2 separate regions of the Homo sapiens genome follow, and region 1 is linked to region 2. Evidence: promoter capture Hi-C in human tissues and cell types (Jung and others, 2019). All regions are on one chromosome and are shown on one strand. Each heading gives the region's core, a stretch centred on a gene start or on the middle of the fragment in contact. The rest is flanking DNA. Distances are from core to core; before and after follow the strand shown. Region 1 overlaps ZGPAT (zinc finger CCCH-type and G-patch domain containing). Region 2 holds the start of ZBTB46 (zinc finger and BTB domain containing 46).

The links. The method cuts DNA at HindIII sites, captures the fragments that hold promoters and counts their contacts. A contact is called where the count stands out against the background at its distance.
Region 1: a fragment that was not itself captured here is called in contact with the fragment with the promoter of ZBTB46 in region 2 in 7 of the 25 tissues and cell types used here (dorsolateral prefrontal cortex, heart left ventricle, liver and 4 more).

The regions. Positions count from the first base shown.
Region 1 is chr20:63,719,695-63,725,422 of GRCh38, reverse strand. All of the region lies in intron 2 of ZGPAT (zinc finger CCCH-type and G-patch domain containing), which reads right to left. Among named protein-coding and RNA genes, the nearest start is that of LIME1, 14 kb to the left of the region's middle. The HindIII fragment of the contact is 9,604 bases long and covers 1-5,728 here.
Region 2 is chr20:63,829,779-63,835,463 of GRCh38, reverse strand. It overlaps ZBTB46 (zinc finger and BTB domain containing 46), which reads left to right and starts at 4,200. Exons shown (of 5, transcript NM_001369741.1): 1 at 4,200-4,367. RefSeq lists silencers at 134-428, 4,043-4,182 and an enhancer at 134-428. The HindIII fragment of the contact is 9,346 bases long and covers 2,227-5,685 here.

The sequences.
Region 1 (5,728 bases), core at 727-3,226, 110 kb after region 2:
CTTTTAAACACTGAAAAGAATGATCAATTAATAATTCTATAGCCAGCTAAACTATCCTTCAAAAAATGAAGCTGAAATAAAGACATTCCCAAATAAACACTGAATTGGTTGCTAGCAAGCCTGTCCTACAAGAAATTCTAGCCGGGCGCGGTGGCTCACGCCTGTAATCCCAGCACTTTGGGAGGCCAAGGCGGGCGGATCACGAGGTCAGGAGATCAAGACCATCCTGGCTAACACGGTGAAACCCCATCTCTCCTAAAAATACAAAAAATTAGGTGGGCGTGGTGGCAGGCGCCTGTAATCCCAGCTACTCGGGAGGCTGAGGCAGGAGAATGGCGTGAACCCGGGAGGCGGAGCTCGCAGTGAGCCGAGATCGTGCCACTGCACTCCAGCCTGGGAAACAAGAGCGAGACCCCATCTCAAAAAAAAAAAAAAAAAGAAATTCTAAATGGGCTGGGCGTGGTGGCTCATGGTAATCCCAGCATTTTGGGAGGCCAGGACAGGCAGATCATGAGGTCATGAATTCGAGACCAGCCTGGCCAACATAGTGAAACCCTGTCTCTACTAAAAATACCAAAAAAATTGGCTGGGGGTGGTGGCAGGTGCCTGCAGTCTCAGCTACTTGGGAGGCTGAGGCAGGAAAATCACTCTAACCAGGGAGGCAGAGGTTGCAGTGATCTGAGACTGCACCATTGCACTCCAGCCTGGGCAACACAGTGAGACTTTGTCTCAAAAAAAAAAAAAAAAAATTCTAAATGAAGTTCTTCAGACTAAAAGGAAATGACACTAGACAGTAACTCAAATTCACAGGAAAGAAAAAGGGGCAAAAAAAAGAAAGGTAAAATATGGATGATACAAAAAAACAAGTATACTTTTTTTCTCTTTGAATTTCTTTCTTTTTTAAATAGAGATGGAGTCTCGCTATGTTGCCCAGGCTGGTGTTGAACTCCTGGCCTCAAGTGATCCTCCTGCCTTGGCCTCCCAAGGCTTTGGGATTACAGGCATGAACCACAGTGTCCAGATCTTAATTTCTTTTCTTTTCTTTTTTTTTTTTTTTTTAGGCAGAGTCTCGCTCTGTCATCTAGGCTGTAATGCAGTGGTGCGATCTTGCTCACTGCAACCTCCGCTTCCCAGGTTCAAGCGATTCTCTTGCCTCAGCCTCCCGAGTAGCTGGGATTACAGACACCCACCACCACACCCGGCTACTTTTTGTATTTTTAGTAGAGACGGGGTTTCACCATGTTGGCCAGGCTGGTCTTAAACTCCTGACCTCCGGTGATCCACTCACCTCAGCCTCCCAAAGTGCTGGGATTAGAGATAAAAGCCACCATTCCTAGTCCCTTTACTTCTGAGATAAGATCTGCACCCAGGCTGGAGTGCAGTGGCACAATCTCAGCTCACTGCAGCCTTGACTTCCCAGGCTCAAGTGATCCTCCCACCTTAGCTGGGATCCTCCCCCAAATAGCTGGGACTACAGGCGCGTGCCACCATGCCAGACTAATTTTTTGTAATTTTGGTGGAGATGGGTTTCGTCATGTTGCCCAGGCTGGTCTCCAACTCCCTGGCTCAGGCGATCTGCCCACCTCAGCCCCCAAAAGTGCTGGAGTTAAAGGCATAAGCCACTGCCTCCAGGCAACTTCTTTCAAAATACTTTTGAAGCAATAATTATAACGCTGAAGAGCTGAAGTTATAACATACATAAATGTATATATGGCAATAATACATGAAGGAGAAGAGGGGATGGAGCTATGTCAGAGGAGAAGGGAGGATGGAGCTATGTCAGAGGACAAGGGAGGATGGAACTATGTCAGAGGAGAAGGGAGGATGGAGCTATGTCAGAGGAGAAGGGAGGATGGAGCTATGTCAGAGGAGAAGGGAGGATGGAGCTATGTCAGAGGAGAAGGGAGGATGGAGCTATGTCAGAGGAGAAGGGAGGATGGAGCTATGTCAGAGGAGAAGGGAGGATGGAGCTATGCCAGAGGAGAAGGGAGGATGGAGCTGTGTCATAGGAGAAGGGAGGATGGAGCTGTGTCATAGGAGAAGGGAGGATGGAGCTGTGTCATAGGAGAAGGGAGGATGGAGCTGTGTCATAGGAGAAGGGAGGATGGAGCTGTGTCATAGGAGAAGGGAGGATGGAGCTATGCCAGAGGAGAAGGGAGGATGGAGCTGTGTCAGAGGAGAAGGGAGGATGGAGCTATGACACAGGAGAAGGGAGGATGGAGCTATGTCAGAGGAGAAGGGAGGATGGAGCTGTGTCATAGGAGAAGGGAGGATGGAGCTATGTCAGAGGAGAAGGGAGGATGGAGCTGTGTCATAGGAGAAGGGAGGATGGAGCTATGCCAGAGGAGAAGGGAGGACGTCATAGGAGGAGGGAGGATGGAACTATGTCAGAGGAAAAGGGAGGTTGGGACTGTGCTATAGGAAAATGGAGGGGGAACTATGTCATAGTACAACGGAAGTAGATCTATGTTATAGACACGTTGCCATACTTAGGCTCAGTGCAGTCGCTCACACCTGTAATCCCAGCACTTTGGGAGGCCAAGATGGGCGGATCACCTGAGGTCAGCAGTTCGAGACCAGCCTGACCAACATGGTGAAACCTCATCTCTACTAAAAATACAAAATTAGCCGGGTGTGGTGGGGGTGCCTGTAGTCCCAGCTACTCAGGAGGCTGAGGCAGGAGAATGGCGTGAACCTGGGAGGCGGAGGTTGCAGTGAGCCGAGATCACACCATTGCACTCCAGCCTGGGTGACAGAGTGAAACTCCATAAAAAAAAAAATGCTGTACTTTAAGTGTTAAGTTAGTAATAATCTGAAGTACATTGTGGTAAGTTAAAGATGTACATTGTCATCTCTAGAGCAACCACTAAGAAAATAACTTAAAACAGCATAGCTAAAAATTCAGCAACAGAGCTGGATATCACCAAAATGATGGAGTTGGCAGCTCCAAAGATCCGTCTCTCCAGCAAAGCAACTATTCTGCTGTCAAAACTGTCACAATAAACTTTTTTCTATTCAGCTGTCAAAACTGTCACAATAAACTTTTTTCTATTAAACTGTCAAAACCTCCCAATAAACTTTTCTGTAACTCTGGTGTCTACGAACCAGATGACTGCTCAATGAAGTAAGACCCTGCTAAATTTCAGGAGGACAGCTGGGCTATTTCTGCTCAGCCACTACTACCAGCTCACATGTAGCCATGGGGAAGGCAACCTGTATTTCTGATGTGGCTTGCTGGTGTCAGAAGGGATGATACAGACCTTTTCTCAAGGAATCCTGCTTATGCATTTGGATCTTTCTAGTGTCTCCCTGAAGGGCTTGCCTTTGTTTCACCCCCTCGAACTCTCTCAGGGCTGGGGCAGCCTCCAGGGTCGTGCTGTTGATGGCATTTTTTTTTTTTTTTTTTCCCCGAGATGGAGTCTCACTCTGTCGCCCAGGCTGGAGTGCAATGGCACGATCTCAGCTCACTGCAACCTCCGCCTCCCAGGCTCAAGCAATTCTCCTGCTTCAGCCTCCCGAGTAGCTGAGATTACAGGCACCCACCACGCCCAGCTAATTTTTGTATTTTTACTAGAGACGGGGCTTCACCATGTTGGCCAGGCTGGTCTCGAACTCCTGACCTCAAGCAATTCACCCGCCTCGGCCTCCCAAAGTGCTGGGATAACAGGTATGAGCCACCGCGCCTGGCCTGAAGGCATTTACAGGTAGATACTACCTGAAGTTGTGGGGGAGGGACAACAACAGATGGGCAAAGAGCTGACAGAAAAGCCTAGGAAGGAAGAGGCTGGGAAAAGAGCTACATGAAGGTCTAAGGGCTTTGGAAAGCTCCTGTTCATGCTTGGAAATCCAGAAGGCCATGCACACAGCTGGGGCTAGACAGGGGCTCAGAAACACCTGAGGAGGCCCTCAACTTTCACCTCTGGTTCATCCTTAGGCTCCATGGGAGCAAGAAGTAAAGGCTGAGGAAAAGCCGTGAACAGCCTGGCGGACACTGAAGGACTTGCCCCAGTACAGAGGCAACCTGGAAAGGATGGAAGACACTCTTTATCCTTTTTTTTTTTTTTTTTATTTGAGACAGAGTCTCGCTCTGTTGCCCAGGCTGGAGTGCAATGGCGCAATCTCAGCTCACTGCAACCTCCGCCCCCTGGGTTGAAGCGATTCTCCTGCCTCAGTCTTCCCAGTAGCTGGGACTACAGGCAGGTGCCACCATGCCCGGTTAATTTTTGTATTTTTAGTAGAGACAGGGTTTCACCATACTGGCCAGGCTGATCTTAAACTCCTGACCTCAAGTGATCCACCCGCCTCCACTTCCCAAAGTCCTAGCATTACAGGCGTGAGCCACTGCGCCCGGCCTCTTTATCCTTTTTGCCACTAGATATTTAAAGAAATCTCTTTCAAAGCACAAGCTAACCACTAACCTAAAAGAACAGAAACAAGCACCCCTGACAGAATATAATCTTTATTTAAAAAGGTCAGGAAAGTAACTAAACAAACGAGAAACGACAATCCACAACAAACAGCAACAATGAACCCTGCAGAGGGCGGAGGATCTGATTTTCAAAGTAACCACATTATCATCTTCAAATTGTGCAGGTTTCAACAAAAAATTACAAGGCATGCAAAGAAACAAGAAAGTGTGGCCCATTCACCGGAAATAAAGAAATTAACAGGCCGGGTGCGGTGGCTCACACCTGTAATCTCAACACCTTGGGAGGCCAAGGTGGGATGACTGCTTGAGCCCAGGAGTTCAAGACCAGTCAGAGAAATGTAGCAAGACCCTGTGTCTAAAACAGTAACAACACAACCAGCCAGGCATGGTGGCACATGCTTGTAGTTCTAGCTACTCAGGAGACTAAGGTGGGAGACTCACTTAAGCCTGGACGGTTAAGGCTGCAGTGTGCCAGGGTTGTGCCACTGCACTACAGCCTGGGTGAGAGAGGGAGACTTTGTCTCAAAAAATAAAAAATAGGCTGGGCGCGGTGGCTCACACCTGTAATTCCAGCACTTTGGGAGGCCGAGGCAGGAGGATCATGAGGTCACGAGATCGAGACCATCCTGGCTAACACGGCAAAACCATGTCTCTACTGAAAATACAAAAAATTAGCCAGGAGTGGTGGCACGCACCTATAGTCCCAGCTACTCAGGAGGCTGAAGCAGGAGAATCGCTTGAACCCAGGAGGCAGAGGTTGCAGTGAGCCAAGATCAAGCCATTGCACTCCAGCCTAGGCTATAGAGTGAGACTCCATCTAAAAAAAAAAGAAAATTAAAAAAAATTTTTTAAAAATAAAGAAATTAATAGAAACTGTTCCTGAGGAAGCCTAGACATTTGAATGACTAGACAAAAACTTTCAATCAATTACCTTAAATACACTAAAAAAAGAGGCTGGGCACAGTGGCTCACATCTGTAATCCCAGCATTTTGGGAGGCTGAGGCGGACAGATCACCTGAGGTTAGTAGTTTAAGACCAGTCTGGCCAATGTGGTGAAACCCAGTTTCTACTAAAAATACCAAAAATTAGGTGGGTGTGGTGGCACATGCCTATAATCCCAGCTACTTGGGAGGCTGAGGCAGGAGAATCACTTGAACCCAGGAGGCGGAGGTTGTAGTGAGCCAAGATTGTGACATTGCCTGCCAGCCTGGGTGACAAGAGTGAAACCCCGCTTCAAAAAAAAAAAAAATTAATAACTAAATAAAAAGAAATTTAAAAATAAAGGAAACCATGGATAA
Region 2 (5,685 bases), core at 2,951-5,450:
GGGCCAGCTGGCACTGGACCTGGCCAAGCCAAGCCCGAGAGGAGGCCCACCTCTATCCAGCCTCGACAAGGCCACCTCCCCCAGCCCGTGGGTGGGGCTCTCCTGCAGCCCACGGCCGGCCTCCAGTCCACCCGCAGGACCCAGGATGACGTGTGGTGGGCGGCTCCCTGGACAGCCCCAGCATCCTCAGGCTGGTGGCGGGCCTCTCTCCCCGCCCTGCCCTCTGCCTCTCCCTCTGTCTGGGCTCCCAGCAGAGGCCTGGAGAGGGCAGGGACAGGTTCTGGGCAGTTCCCTGGGAGGGGGCAGGACTCCCAGGGCTGTTGCCATGGGGACGACTGAGCAACACCACTGGCTGGTGAATAAACAGGCAGGTTCCCTGACCAGTGACTGAGACAAAGACAACCACAGAAATCCCAGCTGGGGGTGGACAAGGAAATGCCTCCTTGGGAGAAGAGGGGGTGGCAGTAAAGGCCCTGGCGAGGTTGGGGAGCTGCTTGGGGGGGGGTGGGGACACAGACAGGAAGGGGTATCTTGTTCCTCGGGAATTTTCTTTCCCAAAGCTCCTCCCAGGCCATCCTTCCTGAGGATGAGAGGCAGATCCCTACTCTCTTGGTGGTGTCAGAGCACCTGGAATGGGGCTGGGTCCCCTCCCAGATCCCCATCCCCTAGAAGCCACACAGTGAGGGTGGAGGGCAGGTGGCCGGCTGGCAGGGTAAGTGGTGCAGGGAGTCTGTGAACACAGGTCTGCGGAGAGGCCATAAGCGCGAGGCTGTGCCAGGACCCTCGGGGGGCCCTGCCAGCCAGATGGCTCTCCATTTGTGTCTCTGGTTGAGTTTTCCCAGGGGTTTGTGGGGGGCACGTCCCTCAGCAGGTACATCCGTGGGGCTGCCCAGCCTCTGCACCTTGCCCTGAGCCCCCCGTCCTCCAGAACTCCTGGCCTGCTGCCGCTCATCCCTCATAGGCCTCAGGGTCCCTTGGACAGGCTCCCAACGTGCTCACCCAGATGGCTGGGGGTGACTTTCAGGAATGACCACGTAATGCAGCGTGGACAAGTGTGCCCTACAGAGACCTGACCTTTTGTTCACCTGTCTTGTTCACCCACTTGGCGAGGTCAGGGACCATGTCCAGTTCATCATGTCACCCTCAGGGGCCCCACCCTCTGGACCCTCCCAGACACCCATGTGCTGGCCTCCCAGCCCTGATCCCAATGCTGCTGAGGCCACACTTCACATTCTCTGTTCCCAGAGCTGCCTCCCAGCCGGCTGTCAGGCGGCAGATCCCTCCTTGCATCTGTGGCCCCCAGGCCTGGTGTGCGTCACCTGCACAAGTGTCCCGGGGCCCTAGGAAGAGGGGGCACCGCGGCCCAGCCTGGCATCCCCCCGTCTCATGTCTAATCCCAGCAGCAGCTCAGTAGATGCTGGGCTCCAACAAACCTGAGGTTCCTGGGCCACGGGGCCAGCATGCCCGTCGGAGCAGACACTCCACGTGGCTGTAGGAGTCCAACTACTCCACCCTCCTCGTCCTCCCAGTTCGGCTGAGAGGCTGCAGCTGCTGCTGCTGGTTTTTGTTTGTTTTTCTTTTAAATAGTAATGGGGTTTATCAGCTCTTGGAATAACGGTCTGTAGGACTTAATCAGGGCGCTGTCTCTGAGACCGGTCTTGGTTCTTCCTTTTTGACATACTGTCTTCGTCTCCAGGCTGCTTGACCTTCTGTTGGTTCTTGGAGCAGAAAAGTCAGGAGTCTCTGTCCCGTCACTGGCAGTGTTGCCGAGGGGGAAGCGGGGAGGAGTGGGGCTCCCAGGTGAGAGGGGGCCCAGAGCCTCATCCGCCCCGTTCATTCTAGAACTCAGCACGTTTCTTTTTTTTTCTTTTTTGAGACAGAGTCTTGCTCTGTCGCCCAGGCTGGAGTGCAGCGGCACGAACTTGGCTCACTGCAAGCTCCACCTCCCGGGTTGACGCCATTCTCCTGCCTCAGCCTCCCGAGTAGCTGGGACTACAGGCACCTGCCACCACGCCTGGCTAATTTTTTGTATTTTTAGTAGAGACGGGGTTTCACCGTGTTAGCCAGGATGGTCTCGATCTCCTGACCTCGTGATCCGCCTGCCTCGGCCTCCCAAAGTGCTGGGATTACAGGCGTGAGACACCGCGCCCGGCCCTCAGCAAGTTTCTACCAAGACAGGCAGCCCTAACCTGGCAGGTGGGGTTGGCCTGGGTCGTGGTGAGATCAAGGTTTGGTTCTTATGGGCAGGCCTCCTAAGCGATGACTGAGTGCCACTGTGTGTTCCGCCAGGCAGCTGCTGCTGCTCTCCATCCCTGCATGGACAACGGACATGGCAAACCATCAACACTGCTCTCCTTGGAGGCTGTCTAGGGAGGTCCAGACATCTTGGGAGAGACTGGGGTTCTCTTTTGCGCAAGAGAGCATGGGCAGGCTCTGCGGGAGGCCCTTGGGGCAGGCATCAGGGCTCTGGTCCTCCTTGCTTTGGCTCGGTGGGCCCGAGCTCTCCTGTCTCCCCAGGCCTCCTTTCCTCCGTGGGGTACAACTGGGCTCTGGGTGGGCAGGTGGGGGCTCCTGCAGGCAGTGCTGTTTTCTCCAAGGGGGATGCACGTGACCCGCCAGACCCTCCTGGAAGCCGCCTCTTCTCAGGGTGGTTGTGCTCAGCCCCCACTTCCCGAAGGTCGGTGAGGCTGGGGCTACAGTTTCAGACCAGAGCAGGCAGTGCCACCGAGAGGGTGCCGCGCGAGGTAGGCCGGCGACGGGGCTTCCTGGGCCGCAGTGCCATCCCGGCGACCTTGGCGAGGGGATGGGAACGGGGTGTCCGCACAGCCATTTCCAGGCGCCCGCGACGGCAGTAAGGGAGTGTCCCAGGCGTTGGTCCCGGCAGCCACACCTCGCTTCGCCTTTGCTCACTCATGGAGAGCCCTCAGCCGCCTCCCACTGCCGCTCCTGAATGCGCCTCACACATCCAGATTTGAAAGCACCCATAGGGCCGCCGCCTCCCACCTCCCGAGGAATCCGCTGCGCTGGGCCCGCAGGGAGGCAGGCTGGACGGCCCGGGCGCCTCCCCATTGGTTGGCCGGGCCGGGCTCGACTCCCTCGCGCGGCTGCCGGCCACAGGCTCACCTCCCTTCCCGCCGCGCCCGGGGAGAGGAAGCGAGGTGGCCTTTACCCCTGCGCAGGCCGGCCAGGAATGCGGGGCCGCGCTTCCCACTCTACCCGCCCGAGGGCTGAGGACGGCGGAGGCGAGAAGCGACGCGCAGAGTCCGGGCGCCGAGTGGTGGAGACGCGTCCCAGGCCGTTCGGATCGGGGCTGCACACGGGCTGGGGCGAGGCCCGGGCCGCTGGTTCCCGCCCCCTCCCGGAGCCATTCGTCCCCCGCAGACAACACGACGGGAGGGACCCACGCGCGGCCGCCGGTGCCCCTAGTCAGCCAAAAGCGAGCCCCACTGGCGGGCACCCCCACGAGGCCTGCGCCCGAGGTGCGCCGATCTCCGGGTGCGCCGAGGCCCCCGAGGGTAGGCGCGCGCGGTGCCCAGGCCCTTCCAGACCCCGCACCCCGGGCGGCCTTCCTTGGGGGCGCCTTTTCCGCACCGCGAGCGGCCCGCGTTGATGCCCGGCCGGGCTGGGGGAGTCGCCAAGTTTGCGAGACGCGCGCAGTGCAACCGCGCGTCAGGCGCGGGGACGGCCGGTGACCTGGGCACCCGCGCGCCCCCGAGGAACCTGCGCGTGGGCAGCGCCCGGTGCGCGGCCCGGGAAGGGAGCGGGTGCCCTCGCCGGGGTCGCCGCTCCCGTGGGGTGTTTCCAGGCTGCTCCGCGCTCGCGGGGCAAGGGCGCAGCGGGGGCCAGGGGGACCCCCGCGCCGCGCCGCCCCAGCCCCCCGCCAGCCCAGGGGAGGGGGCTTCCCACAATGCCCAGCGAGCTCCAGCCCGCACTTCCGCTGTCCGGCTGCCCGCGGGGGGGAGAACGGACCCCCGGCGCGGCCCCCTGCGACCCCGCGGCGCGGCGCCGGGAGCCGAGCGAGGGGCGGGGCCGGCGGCCGGGCCGGCGTGGGCGGGGCCCGGGGCGGTGGCCGCGGCCGGGGCGCGGCGCGGGCCAATCAGCGGCGGCCGGGCGCGCGCCGGGGGGCGGGGTCAGGGTCCGCGGGCGGGGCGCGCGCGCGCGGGCGGCGGGGGCCGCGGGGTTGGAGCGGGCGCGGGGGCGCGCGCCGGCCTGACGGACCGACGGACGGACGGACGGACCGAGCAGCCCCGGCGAGCGCGCAGCTCGGACCCGCCCGGACGCAGCGCCCTCCCGGCGGCGGCGGCGATCACCGGCGCCGGCCCGGCGGCCGCGGCGCCCGCCCTCGCCCGCGCCCCATGGGGTCACAGGTAAGCGGCGCCGGCTCATTGTCCGCGCGGCCGGGCGGGCGCATCGCGGCGGGGGCCGGGCCCGGAGCCGGGAGCCGGGAGCCGGGGCCGCTGCGAGCCCGGGCGCGCCCCCGCCGCCGGCCGCCCCGCCACGCCCCGCCCCGCGGGGGCGCCCTCCCGGGGGCCATCGGCGCTCCCAGCTGCGGCGCGGGCTCCGGGGGCGGCGGCGGAGACCCCGGCCCGGCCCCCGCGGGTGCCCCCCAGGCCGGCGGCGCGGGGCGGGGCGCGCGGGGGCGGCGCGGGTTCCCCGCGGGGCTGAGCGCGGAGGCGGCTGGGCTGCCCCGGCCCCTCGGCCCCCGGCACCTCCCGCCGCCGCCGCGCTCCCTCCCCGGCACCTCCGAGAGGGGAATTTTCCAGCTGGTAATTTCTGCTGCGTCAACGCCTGGCCCCGAGGCAGCCCGGGGGCGTCTTGGCGCCCCCCGCCCGCGCCCCCCGCCGGCACAGCCCAGCCGCACCCGGAGCCGCCCGCGCCGAGTTTGCCAAGAGTCGGAACTGCGGGAGGTGGGCGCGGGCGGGTCCCGGCGCCCTGAGGCCGGGGGGTCATTGTCTCCCCGGACGCCGGGCGCCGGCCTGGTCTCCATCTTAATCGCCGGCCGAACCGGGGCGCAGGGGCCTCGGGGCGGGGCGGCTCGGGGCGCGGAGGGCTCGGGGCGCGCGGGGCGGACGGGGCGCGCGGAGGAAGCGGGGTCCGCTGCGAGCCGCGTCTTTGTTTCTCTGTAAATAGACATGTCAGTTTCGCGGGGGAGCGCGAGCCGGTGTCTGACAACTCAATCCCTAAGGCAAACGGGGAATTCTCTGCGCCAGAGGGAGGGCTCCTGCTAGTTGGGGTTCCCCTGGCCCCGCTGACAGATTCACTGTTTGTAGGTTTAACGAAGCACACACAATAGGGCTGGACCGAGGAGCCAGGGTACAGACCAGATGGGGCGAAGAACGGATATTTTCTGACAGCGAAGAAATATAAACAAAAGAAAGTTTGAGATTCGCAGCGAATTTCCTCTCTCGCTTTCCGTGCTGCAATCTCAACGATGCATTTGGAGTGGATTACGGTGGCAAGATTGTGATCAGCATTGTTTAAAGAAATGCTAATTAGAAACGTGTTTAGCGCGCGGCCTGGGCGCAGACACCTGTGCGCCGAGAACTCACGGGCATTTTAATTGTATCGATTGTAGAATCTTTCATATTGGCTCTATTATCAGAGCTAACTTCCCGTTTGGGTAACAGACTGGATACATCTCTGCTGCTGGCACTCACGCTGCCTCTGCAAGGCACTATTTCACTC